4 separate regions of the Homo sapiens genome follow, and regions 1, 2 and 4 are each linked to region 3. The links are contacts of gene promoters, found by promoter capture Hi-C in human tissues and cell types (Jung and others, 2019). All regions are on one chromosome and are shown on one strand. The core of a region is centred on a gene start or on the middle of the fragment in contact, and the rest is flanking DNA. Distances in the headings are between cores, read along the strand shown.

Evidence for each region. The method cuts DNA at HindIII sites, captures the fragments that hold promoters and counts their contacts. A contact is called where the count stands out against the background at its distance.
Region 1: a fragment that was not itself captured here is called in contact with the fragment with the promoter of KCNA4 in region 3 in 2 of the 25 tissues and cell types used here (dorsolateral prefrontal cortex and liver).
Region 2: a fragment that was not itself captured here is called in contact with the fragment with the promoter of KCNA4 in region 3 in 3 of the 25 tissues and cell types used here (dorsolateral prefrontal cortex, hippocampus and stomach).
Region 4: a fragment that was not itself captured here is called in contact with the fragment with the promoter of KCNA4 in region 3 in 3 of the 25 tissues and cell types used here (heart left ventricle, heart right ventricle and mesendoderm cells).

Annotation. Positions count from the first base shown.
Region 1 is chr11:29,552,228-29,554,964 of GRCh38, reverse strand. The region is part of intron 1 of LINC02755 (long intergenic non-protein coding RNA 2755); the gene reads left to right. Among named protein-coding and RNA genes, the nearest start is that of LINC02755, 41 kb to the left of the region's middle. The HindIII fragment of the contact is 3,890 bases long and covers 1-2,737 here.
Region 2 is chr11:29,681,477-29,684,176 of GRCh38, reverse strand. No RefSeq gene overlaps it. Among named protein-coding and RNA genes, the nearest start is that of LINC02546, 88 kb to the right of the region's middle. The HindIII fragment of the contact is 7,986 bases long and covers 1-2,700 here.
Region 3 is chr11:30,015,567-30,018,518 of GRCh38, reverse strand. It overlaps KCNA4 (potassium voltage-gated channel subfamily A member 4), which reads left to right and starts at 1,489. Exons shown (of 2, transcript NM_002233.4): 1 at 1,489-1,947. The HindIII fragment of the contact is 10,149 bases long and covers 1-2,952 here.
Region 4 is chr11:29,705,593-29,708,292 of GRCh38, reverse strand. No RefSeq gene overlaps it. Among named protein-coding and RNA genes, the nearest start is that of LINC02546, 110 kb to the right of the region's middle. The HindIII fragment of the contact is 4,665 bases long and covers 1-2,700 here.

The DNA of each region.
Region 1 (2,737 bases), core at 81-2,580, 460 kb after region 3:
TGAAAAACCAAAGATAGTAATAAACTTTCTTGACAGGTTGTCCTCTTTTTATAGTGTCTGGAAAGGTCATAATATATAAGCATTATCTGTACCTTGGAGATTTGGCCACAGTTATAATTAGTACTATAAGGTGAATTTTGAGACATTGGGAATTGATTATTTTTAGCTATATACTCTTTACAGTATTTAATTGATCTATTCCTTCTGTCATTTTTGATACTTATATTTTCTCTAGAAAAAAAGGCTAATTTTACCTATGCTTTTAAGCTTTCTTCTGATAAAAATTTTTCCACTATCATTTTCTAAAAAAAGAAAAAAAAACTCAAAGATACAATTTTTTAGCATTAACCTCAGTAGAAAGAGACATTTAAAATCTCGTCTTAATTCTACTAATCTTTTAAACAAAATAGCTTTCTTTTTGGTTAAGTAATTTTAATATTTGTTTAATGTATTGCTTATTTTATAGTTGTTTTTAGATTCTTGAATTACTTAGCTTATTTTTTTTACCCTCTTTTAAAATAACAACTATTCATTTTACTATGCAAAATGAATGCAAAATTTTACTAGGTAAATGTGCCAGGGATAATCTCAAAACAGATTTATAGCATCATTTGGCTGTGTTTTGTTTGTTCTTCATAACCATACCACAATAATGGCAGGAATTAATATTTCCATTTTACAATGAGAAGACATACTGTGAAAAGTTTAGTGGCTTTCCTGCCAACACTCACACATTGATGAATGTTCAAGCCAAAAATAGGACTATAATCATTCACTCACTGACTGGTCTACCAGTGCTCTATATATGAGTGTGAACTGTAAATACAATTAGGCCCAACAGCACGTTTTCAAGACAAGTCCATGCCTGAAAATATCCTTTAGTATAATTAATCACAGTTCTTGAGGTTTTGTTCTGTTTTTTCTCTGAGCAAGGGCTTCACTATAAAAAATATTTTTCAGGGTTTATTTGTTCTTGCATCTTAGGTGAAATATATTGAGGAACTTAATTAAACTTAATTTTCTTTCTAGGATAAGTTGGGCTATGATTAACATGGAGTGTCCACTTGTCTATTTGGGCCTTCAAGTCTACAAATATCCAAATTCACCCTGAGAACTAGATAATCAGATACCAACAGTTTGGGACCAAGGGTCAGGATGACATTATGAGTTTAGGCTTGAACTTCTCCATCAACTCCAAGCTTAGCAGTCAAAGAATAATTTTAAAGAATGGCAAAATGACTAAGATATGGTAAACTCAAAAGAAGAGAAATATCTCCACAGACCAGAAAGGGAAAAAAATGTCACAGTGATAAGTTAGTGATTAGAGACTGGAGCTAGGCCTGCTGGTTCTCAGTCTAGAGGAAGCTAGAATTTGTCTCCCACAGATTAATGAGAGCTAAAGCTCAGTGTGCATGGCAGGAGACCACAGTCAAGTTAATTGCCTGAAACTTGGGGCAGGTGCAGGACTCACCAGCCTACAAAATATGGTTGAAAGAAAATTATGGCTGCCCTTGGGGTAAGGCTTATGTAAAGTATATACCTACGATTTTAAAGGATTCAGACCAAGTCCTATACACAAGATCTAAAATTAATCCACCCTACATTTAGTAACTGATTTCGAGACTGCTCTATTATCAAGAGAGAACTGGAATTATGAGCCTTTATAAAATTGATCTTGGGGTAGAGTTCCCTTTGTGTCTCTGAAAGAAGGTGAGATTTCTGTGGCAAACAGAAAACAGGTTGGAGTAAGAAGGATGGAAGGAAGCTTGATCAAGGGAGTGAGGCTCTGTGCCTTTACCTCAGGCAGAGTCTCAGGAAGGTGATATGCCCCCACATAGGAAATTGTTGCGAAGTTCATTTGGCAGATGAGTTTCTAGATAGGTTGCAGTTATTTCCAAACCCCCACCTGAATAATGGACATAGCAGAGATCTTTCAGACCCAAAGAGACCAGAAGACAAAAGTGACCTTAAGACCAGTGATGGATGATCATTTGGAATGATGAGCATCTTAGGAAATAATGAGGCATAGCGTCCTCTCCATTTTCTCCCCTCCTCACCACACACCCAGTCTTGGAATTAAGTAAGCTCCTTAGGCACAATCCCTTAAGAAAAAGAGGCTTCAATTTTATTGACATTATTTTCTGCTGCTCTAATAAATTGTGAATTTAAAATGGAAATTATGTTGAACTACAGAAATATATTATCCATGTTGCCTACAAGGTTAATACCTGATTCTAACACAAACAATTCAAACAAGTAAAATATGTTGCTGTACTACTATGAGGTTAACAAAATGAACAGGTAAGACTGACGATCTAACCACTCAGGAGTACCAGGGGCCAGCTATGCCATTCAAACCCACTCCAATCCTGGCAGGGATTTGTCATCATTTGTTGGTGGTGGTTGCTCTGGCTTTAATCTTGATGAGAATGTCTCTGGTCCTCTAGCTGGCTGAGATTTTCAAAGGGGTAACAATGACAGCAATTCCAGTTATGTCCTCCTTGGGGGATCCATTTTTGTTGTAGCAGGGAGCCATACTTTTTGCATCTCATTTCCAAAGAAGGCAGAAGTTTCTTTCAGGCTAGCCCTTCTTTCATCATCTTTCCTGAGATGGTATAAGAAGAAAAATCAGTTTATATCAAGATTTGTGTTATTGTAGCAATTTTACTCAGTACAAAAACATCACTTAAAAAGTTATGGATGGGGTGTAACCGAGACCTCCCTCTTCTAAATCCTT
Region 2 (2,700 bases), core at 35-2,534, 330 kb after region 3:
AGGTTGGGGACCACTGTCCTATGGAACAGAATTTCTTCAGTTTTGTATGTGCCGTGCACTTTTTTGGTAATATAGTAAAGCCGCTTCTCAGAAAATTTTTGAGTAACGTTAAACAAGACTATTATGATTTCAAAGGCATTTGTGTTGAACCAAAATATATTTTTAAAATAGTGATAATCATAGTATATGTGCTTCTTTATTAGTGCAATAAATAAGAAGATTTAGTGGCAGGTACTAACAACCTAATTACATAATTGCAATAAATGGTGATGACAAACGTATTTTGAGATATTTGCAATGTAAAGTGATATGAAAATATCTGTGGTTTCTATTAGTGACAAAGTTAGAGGTACTGGTGATGTTACTACAGTGTTTTGCCTAAATTAATAATGTAAGGCTATGTTAACGTGCCTTAGAAGTTGGTGAAAATATAAAGATACATAATTTTTTCCCAACCACATTCATAGACAACCAAAATTCTATCCATAACTAGCCTATAGAAGAATGAGGAACCTTGCTACACATGAGAGAGACTGTGAAGAAATGGTAATCAAGGATGTGATGCGATTATAGAGACACCATATCAGAATAGTTAAGAGTATAGAATTTGGCATTAGAAAAATGTGGAATTGAATCTCATTTCTGTAACTTTGTTGTGGATGGAACCAGTACCTTAACTTCTGTAGGGACTTTTTTTTTTTCACCTACTTAATGATTATACCTTTAACTAAATTCCTAGAGTCATTGTAAGGCTTAAATAAAATAATGCATATGGAGTGGTTAGTGAAGGTTTGGCAGGGAAATTTTAGGTTAAAAATAATCAACATGGGTATTGAGACTCTTTTCTACCTCTTATCTTCTTTGGATATTGACATACTTTGGTATATATTGGTAGAAAAAAATCTTTGGTTATCTTCTTGGAAAGAGTGCTAGACTTTTGCACATTAAACCTTTCTTGGAAGGAGATGAGGGAGAATGATATTTCCTTTTCCTGTTAGTTTAGGGTTATAGGCATAAATTCAGTGACATCTTGGAAAGAGTGACTTCTCATATGGATGGCAGATGGGGCTGTCATGTTTCTTAAAATATCAACAGCATAACCAGGAAAGGCTCTATTCTAAGTTTGGGATGTAAGCTCAATCTCTTGGATATGGCAAGCTGTGCCTTCCAGCCTCCTGAAATGATTTCAGCTAGCTAAAATACCACTGAAGTCGCTAAAATTTTAGTTGATTTTGCATCCAACACCTGGCTCTTGGTTGAATTGTTTATACTCGTGGGTTTAATTTTAGATTTAAGCTTCATATTTTTCTTACTACTCCAGATATTCTTGATTTTCTTACTGAATTTAAAATGTTTATGATTTACCGGCAGAGTATGTAGTTTTAGACCTTGTTGTAAATATACAAAATGCTATAGCAGCCCATTAGCATGAACATACTGATTTGCTCTCTGCCTCTTTACCCAAGACATAGATCTTTATGTGTCTTACCAGTTCCTCCTATATCCAACCACTTATTCATTGACAAAGCCAGTAAAGATATAGGTAATTAAATGAAGTGGGTGTTATTTTGTTTGGTTAGCTGGATTTTTGCCAGGTTTTTTTTTTTTTTCTTTATCTATTTGGAAGAGGCTTAAATATACTCCAACGAGGCCGGTGAGTCAGATTACAAGGCCTCCTTCTATTCTGTAAAGTCCCTCTAAGTTTTTAGCGCCATTAATTCTCAGGAATCTCAGCTCTTTTTGGCTCTTTGGAGTCTCTACGAATAATGAAAAATACCAGAAGCAGCATTTTCTGCAACATATCTGGGGTCCTTTTACATTTTCCCATTCTTATCTTCACTTGTTCTGCCAGATTGAGATGGGATGTGACTTTCTTCTTCACCATTTCATTGTAGGAGAGTTTCTTACTCAAGCTGGCCAAAAAGGCTCCAATTTACTTTCCATAGTGGAATTCTTGAACTAAGCATATCAGTTAGACTTTTCCTCATCTCAGCCCCAGAAAGCAGGCATTTATATCACTATTATCACACTTATTAAAAACAATATAATTAGCTTCACCAGACTGTGAACATTTTGCAATGAATTTTTATTTATTCATTCAATTAATAAAAATCATTTATTTGTTGAGTACTTATTCTGTATCAGGTGAGTGCTAGGCACAGAGTATATTACTGGTGAACAAGAAGGACAAGGTTCCTGCTCTCACAAAATTTAGAGTGGAATGGACTTTCACTCCATATCCCAACACCTTCCATCAAGTATGGCATAAAGAAGGTAGTAGATATTATCAGAATAGTGCAAAATTAAATTTGTAGTTAACAACCACTGTTAAAATAAATTATAAAATTTACCATTATTTAGTTATAATAAATTGAAGCTATCCTAAGAATAACATGGGCAAAAGAAAAAGTGAAAGACAGGCAAAGTGTTCTAAGAAAACCTTTCTCAGGCAAAGCAAGGTTTAACTTTGGTGAAGACTGTGGTATTACCAATGAGTTTTGAGACAGCAGTGCATCATTTCTATAACTTTTCAATGCTGACCTAAGAAAACCCTGCCTGCAGGTATTTCAGGCATTGGAAACTTTCAGTGCTAACAATTATATTCAGATGGTTGCTCATCAACAGGCACTGGCATCTTGTTATAATGGAGTGTATTTCCTCTGCTTGAATAGATTTCCATGCTCCATTCATTTGATAGTT
Region 3 (2,952 bases), core at 240-2,739:
GAGTGGGGTGGAGATGGACAGCAAAACCCTTTTTTTTTTTTTTTTTTTTTTAAATGGAGGTGGGCAGTGGGAGAGATCACTAAGATAGAGTCCTCCCGGGAGCCAAACCTCTCGCCCGGTTGATTCTGGCAAGCCTGAGACAGGCAAACTGTCTACTTTCCTGTTTTGATGTGGTCCGAAGAAATAAACAAGAAACAAGGAGAGACCCTTCCTCAAACTGTAACTCCAGCCAATTAGCATGAAAAGCTCAAGAAGCTATTAACCAGAAGTTTCGGCTTTAGGGGACCAGGGACTTGCCCGAGGCCCTGGCATGCGCGGCGGCTAGGTTTAACTTTCAACTCATAGTGACCTTTTCCTTAATTTAATGCAAAAAATCTTTCCCAGAGGTGGAGATTTAAGATGCTAATGATACATACGTCCTATGAAGAAGCATGTTAAACCACCATGCATGCACCAGAAAAACTCCACCTCTACATGCCCTGTCTATAGTTCTCCTTATTTCCCCTTACGGGAGAGGCCCGTAAAAGAAACCCACACCCTGACTTCGAGGAACAGCCCACTTTTTTTTTTCTTGGTGTTAGCTCCCTTGTGCGCACAAGCTTTAATTAAAAGAAAGAAAGAAAGAAAACCAAAAAAACTTGCTTTTTGCTGCGATATCCCTTGATTTCTGTCCTGAAGGATCCAAAGAGCCCTCAGGGAGTCGATACCAGAGCCGTATTTGTTTTTGCAGCAACAGGTTGGCTGCGGGCTCTTCCCCCGCCTTCCAAAGCCCTCAGCCCCTGGCCCACCCTGCAACTTACTCATCTCTCCAACCCTCCTCCCCTAGAACTGCTGCCTCCTGTGCGCAGCCCCTAGCCTGGGCCTGATTCCAATTTCTGTAACATTCCCCTGCCCGGGATTGAATACAGGTTGAAAGTCGGTCTCCTCCGCGCCCCTGAGGCCCAACCCCGGCGCTGAAGCCTCCCAACTCCTGTGTGCAAAGGAGACGGAGACTGAGGGATCTGGGCGCTCTGGCAGGCACAGGAGGGCTCCCCGCCCGTGGCCTCGCCGGAGATGCACCCGGCTCCCAACCCAACAAACCCGCTTTGGGAGGGGATGGGGTGGGGAAAAGAAGACGGGGCTCGGGGCTCGAGGGGAGATATAGAGAAAGCAAGTTAGGTAGAGGAGATGTCCCAGAGGACCCCATTTTCGGGACTGCACCTCCCATTGGAGCTCCCCGCTCCCAAGCCCTCTGGGGACTCCCGCGCTGCCGTCGAAACCCCTATTCCGGCCCCAACGGGGACACTTCTCCAGGATTTGCTCCTCGCCTGTGGGGACCACAGCCAAAGACTCCTGGAATCGATCCCAGATCCTGGGAGTCGGGGGGCCCAGCCGGGGTGCGGGGAGTCGCGGCGTCGTGACTGCACCCGCCCCGCCGCGCCGGGAGGCGCCCCTGGCGACCGTCGCGAACGCCACACCCTCGGTTCGGCCCTGGCCCCGCCCCCGCCCAGAGCGCGTTCGCGGCCAGGGGAGGCGTGTGCTGCTCCCGCAGCCAGCGAGAGCGAGAGAGGGATGGATGTTGGAGGAGGAATTCGGGCTTAACAAGTGATCGCTGCTGTCTAGGATTTTGTTTCTTTTCGGGGGAACCTTGACTTCCTTTCCCAGGCAATCCCTCCTGTGCTGAACTCCAGAGGAACCAGGAGTCTTGGGGTCTTCTCTGGGGCAGCCCCAACCCCCACCCCCAGGCTCCAGCCGCGAGGACTCTGTGCACCCCTCGGGCCAGGCAACAGAACTTGTTCCGTGGATATTTGGAGCCTCCACCTGCCAAACCCGAGTGATTCCTTTTACCACCCCCCGCCCCCCACCCAGGATCATTCTTCCCCTCCTCCAGCTGTTGCAGCTTGAGGGGGAAAAACAAGCCAGCCGGTGGATTTTCTTTATTTTTATTTTTCGCCCCGCCGGGGAACGGTAAGTATGATACCTTTTTTTTTTTTTTTTTTTTTTTGTATCTTTCCTCTACCTTCTTATTTTGGCTGTTAAGAAACAGTGGACATTTGAGGGATAAATAATATCGGGAATGTGACAGAAGGGCATGAATGGAAGGCGGTTAAAAATAAACCAGGAGGTGGGAGAAGGGAGGTGCGGATGCTGCGCGGCGCTCCGGGGGGCCAACAGTTGTTATTTTCCCAAACCCGGGGATGCGGTGAGTGCGCCCTGCTTAACGTGCTGGAGCGGGAACCGAGGTCTGGAGGCGAGGGCGCGATTAAAGATGTCGTTTCCCAACGAGAGGGGGGTTAAGATTTAGCATCGTTTCGCCTCCTCCCAGCCGCACCGGTTCCCTTCTTTTGGGAACAGCCGGTGAACGGGTCTGAATTGCTGCCTCTTCCAACGTTTGGATTTGCGTGCATTTTCCGAGCATTTGAGCAACATACATAGGGGCTGCATAAATGGCGTGCGTTGAAGTGTATATTTCTCACGGTGGTGGCTTTTCTGATTCCCTCTCTCAGTTTCTCTCTCTTTCTCTCTCTCTCTCTCTCTAAGGTTCAGGTACCACCCTGACAGTGACACAGTTGCAGGAATTAGCACTGAGAGACGAACAGCCTTGTTGTTGGAGGGGTGAGAGGAGGAGGGGCGGGATGCTTGGCTGTTGTTTGGGGGCGCCGGGATTGGGGAATAGGTAGTCTGCAAAATCCTATTAGTTTAATGGTGTTAAAGAAGAAGACAAATTCCTCTGCAAAGATCTCTCTCATAAAGGCTCCTGGGAATTGGCTTGAATAGATTCTCCTAACAAGAGTACCTTGAGAAAGAAGAGAGATTTTAAACCAGTCTGATTTGCTGGGAGGAATGATTTTTCTTTTCTCTTCTTTTCTTTCTCTCTCCCTTTCTTTCTAGATCAGGGATAGTGAAGTAACTAGTAGATGATTAAAAGGAAGGCAATTTGCTACTTGTAGGGTGGAGGAGGGAGTTAGATAA
Region 4 (2,700 bases), core at 139-2,638, 310 kb after region 3:
AATTCAATTCATAACATCACCCAATATAAACTACCTAAAAAGTGTTGTAGCTGAGATTTGGTCTCCAGTGTGTTATTTCTAGAACCTGAAGCAGGACTTACAGAAATTCATGTATTGAGATGTCGGCTGAGCCAGAACTAGTACCTGACATTCGTGATTTCCAGGTCATGGGCTTTCACACTGTGCTTGGCTGCCTCTCAGGAAAAAAAAAATTACAAACTAAAATTAGCAGCATTTTCTATTTTTGTAGATAATGGTTTTCTGTTGTGTTTAAGAGCCTGGATTTCCTGAAGGAGGTAGAGTGAAGAGTGGACTGTTTTAGTAAAAAGTGAGAAATACACCCATCCTTATCTCTCAGCTTATGTTTCTGGATGGAGCTGGGCTATCCTCAATCCTGTACTGAGAATGGTCATATTGTGTAGGCTTGGCAAATAAGAATATCTTATTACCCTGGCTTCAGTGATAGGTTTAGGGATAGGGATGCAAAACTAGCCAGTTCAATGGGATTCAAATATATACAGCTCAAATTGAAAACTTTTCAGAATAAAATATTAAAACATTTTTGCTTCCCATCCCAAATAAAGTTGCCATACATGGAGATAGTGGTGGCCAATGTCCTATTAAAGAGTGAGAGATCTGACTTTAGTGTGAGAAACCAACAGAAATGGAAATTGTTCTGCCTAAACCAGCATAAGCTTTTATTATTGGTAATCAAAATGTCTTTTTTTGTAATTTTTATTGATTAAATAATAGTTGTACATGTTCTTGGTATATGTGTGATATTGTGATATATGTATAGAATGTTTAATGATTAAATCAGAGTAATGGGGTATCTATCCACTCAAACATTTATCTTTTCTTTGTGTTGGGGACATTACAATTCTTCTATTTTGAAATATACATTAATTATTTTAACTACAATTTTCCTACTGTAGTATTGAATGCTAGAACTTATGCCTTTTCATCAGATCCCATTGCTCAGGACAATGCTTATGCTGATAAGATAGCTTAAAAAAAAAAAAAAGCTGCTAGCATTCCAACTTCTATCTCTCATGGCAGTTTTTCTCCTTCTCATTTGGCCATTCCCACCTACTCCCCCACTAAAACTTCCACCTATCAATCTCTTCCCACACAAGGCAAATGGTTCTTAGACCAAGGAAAATATCTCCTTCCAGCCTCACAGGCCCATTCTATTCTGTTGTCATTTCCTAACCTCTTCCATGTAGGTTACAAGCCGCTAGCCCGCCTCTTAGAACCTCTCATTTCCTTTCCATCGTGGAAGTCTATCCTTAAGGAAATCACTTCTCAGTGTTCCATCTGCTATTCTACTACTCCTCAGGGATTGTTCAGGCCCCCCCACCTTCCCTACACATACATCAAGCTTAGGGATTTGCCCCCTCCCAGGAATGGCAAATTGACTTTACCCACATGCCTCAAGTCAGGAAACTAAAATACCTCTTGGTCTGGGAAGACACTTTCACTGGATGGGTAGAGGCCTTTCCCACAGGGTCTGAGAAGGCCACCACAGTCATTTCTTCCCTTCTGTCAGACATAATTCCTCGGTTTGGCCTTCCCACCTCTATACAGTCCAATAACGGACCGGCCTTTACTAGTCAAATCACCCAAGCAGTTTCTCAGGCTCTTGGTATTCAGTGGAACCTTCATATCACTTACCGTCCTCAATCTTAATGAAAGTTAGAATGGACTAATGGTCTTTTAAAAACACACCACACCAAGCTCAGCCTCCAACTTAAAAAAGGGACTCTGTCAAGAATAGAGCCGAAAAACTCACCAACCAAGCAAGTAACTACACTGAATCCCCCTTGGACACTCTCTAATTGGATGTCCTGGGTCCTCCCAATTTTCAGTCCTTTAATACCTGTTTTTCTCCTTCTTATTCCATTTAGTTTTTCAATTCATACAAAACCGTATCCAGGACATAATCAATAATTCTACATGACAAATGTTTCTTCTAACAACCCCACGATATCACCCCTTACCACAAAATCTTCCTTCAGCTTAATCTCTCCCACTCTAGGTTCCCACGCCGCCCCTAATCCCACTCGAAGCAACCCTGAGAAACATCACCCATTATCTCTCCATACCACCTCCCAAAATTTTTGCCACCCCAACACTTTACCACTATTTCATTTTATTTGTCTTATTAATATAAGAAGACAGGAATGTCAGGCCTCTGAGCCCAAGCTAAGCCATCTTATCCCCTGTGACCTGCACGTATACATCCAGATGGCCTCTGAAGAATGACAAAAGAAGTAAAAATTGCCTGTTCCTGCCTTAACTGATGACATTACCTTGTGAAATTCCTTCTCCTGGCTCATCCTGGCTCAAAAGCTCCCCCGCTGAGCACCTTGTGACCCCCACCTCTGCCGGCCAGAGAGCAACCCTCCTTTGACTGTAATTTTCCTTTACCTACCCAAATCTTATAAAACGGCCCCACCCCTACCTCCCTTCACTGACTCTTTTTGGACTCAGCCCGCCTGCACCCACGTGAAATAAACAGCCTTGTTGCTCACAAAAAAAAAAAAAAAAAAAAAGAACTTAGGCCTTTTATCTAACTGTATGTTTAGACATGGTATATATTCTATTGGTTTTATGTATGTAATTAGTATATATTCTATTTACATGGTACATATTCTACTGGTTTTATGTATATAATTAGTTTTATATACTATTGGGTAT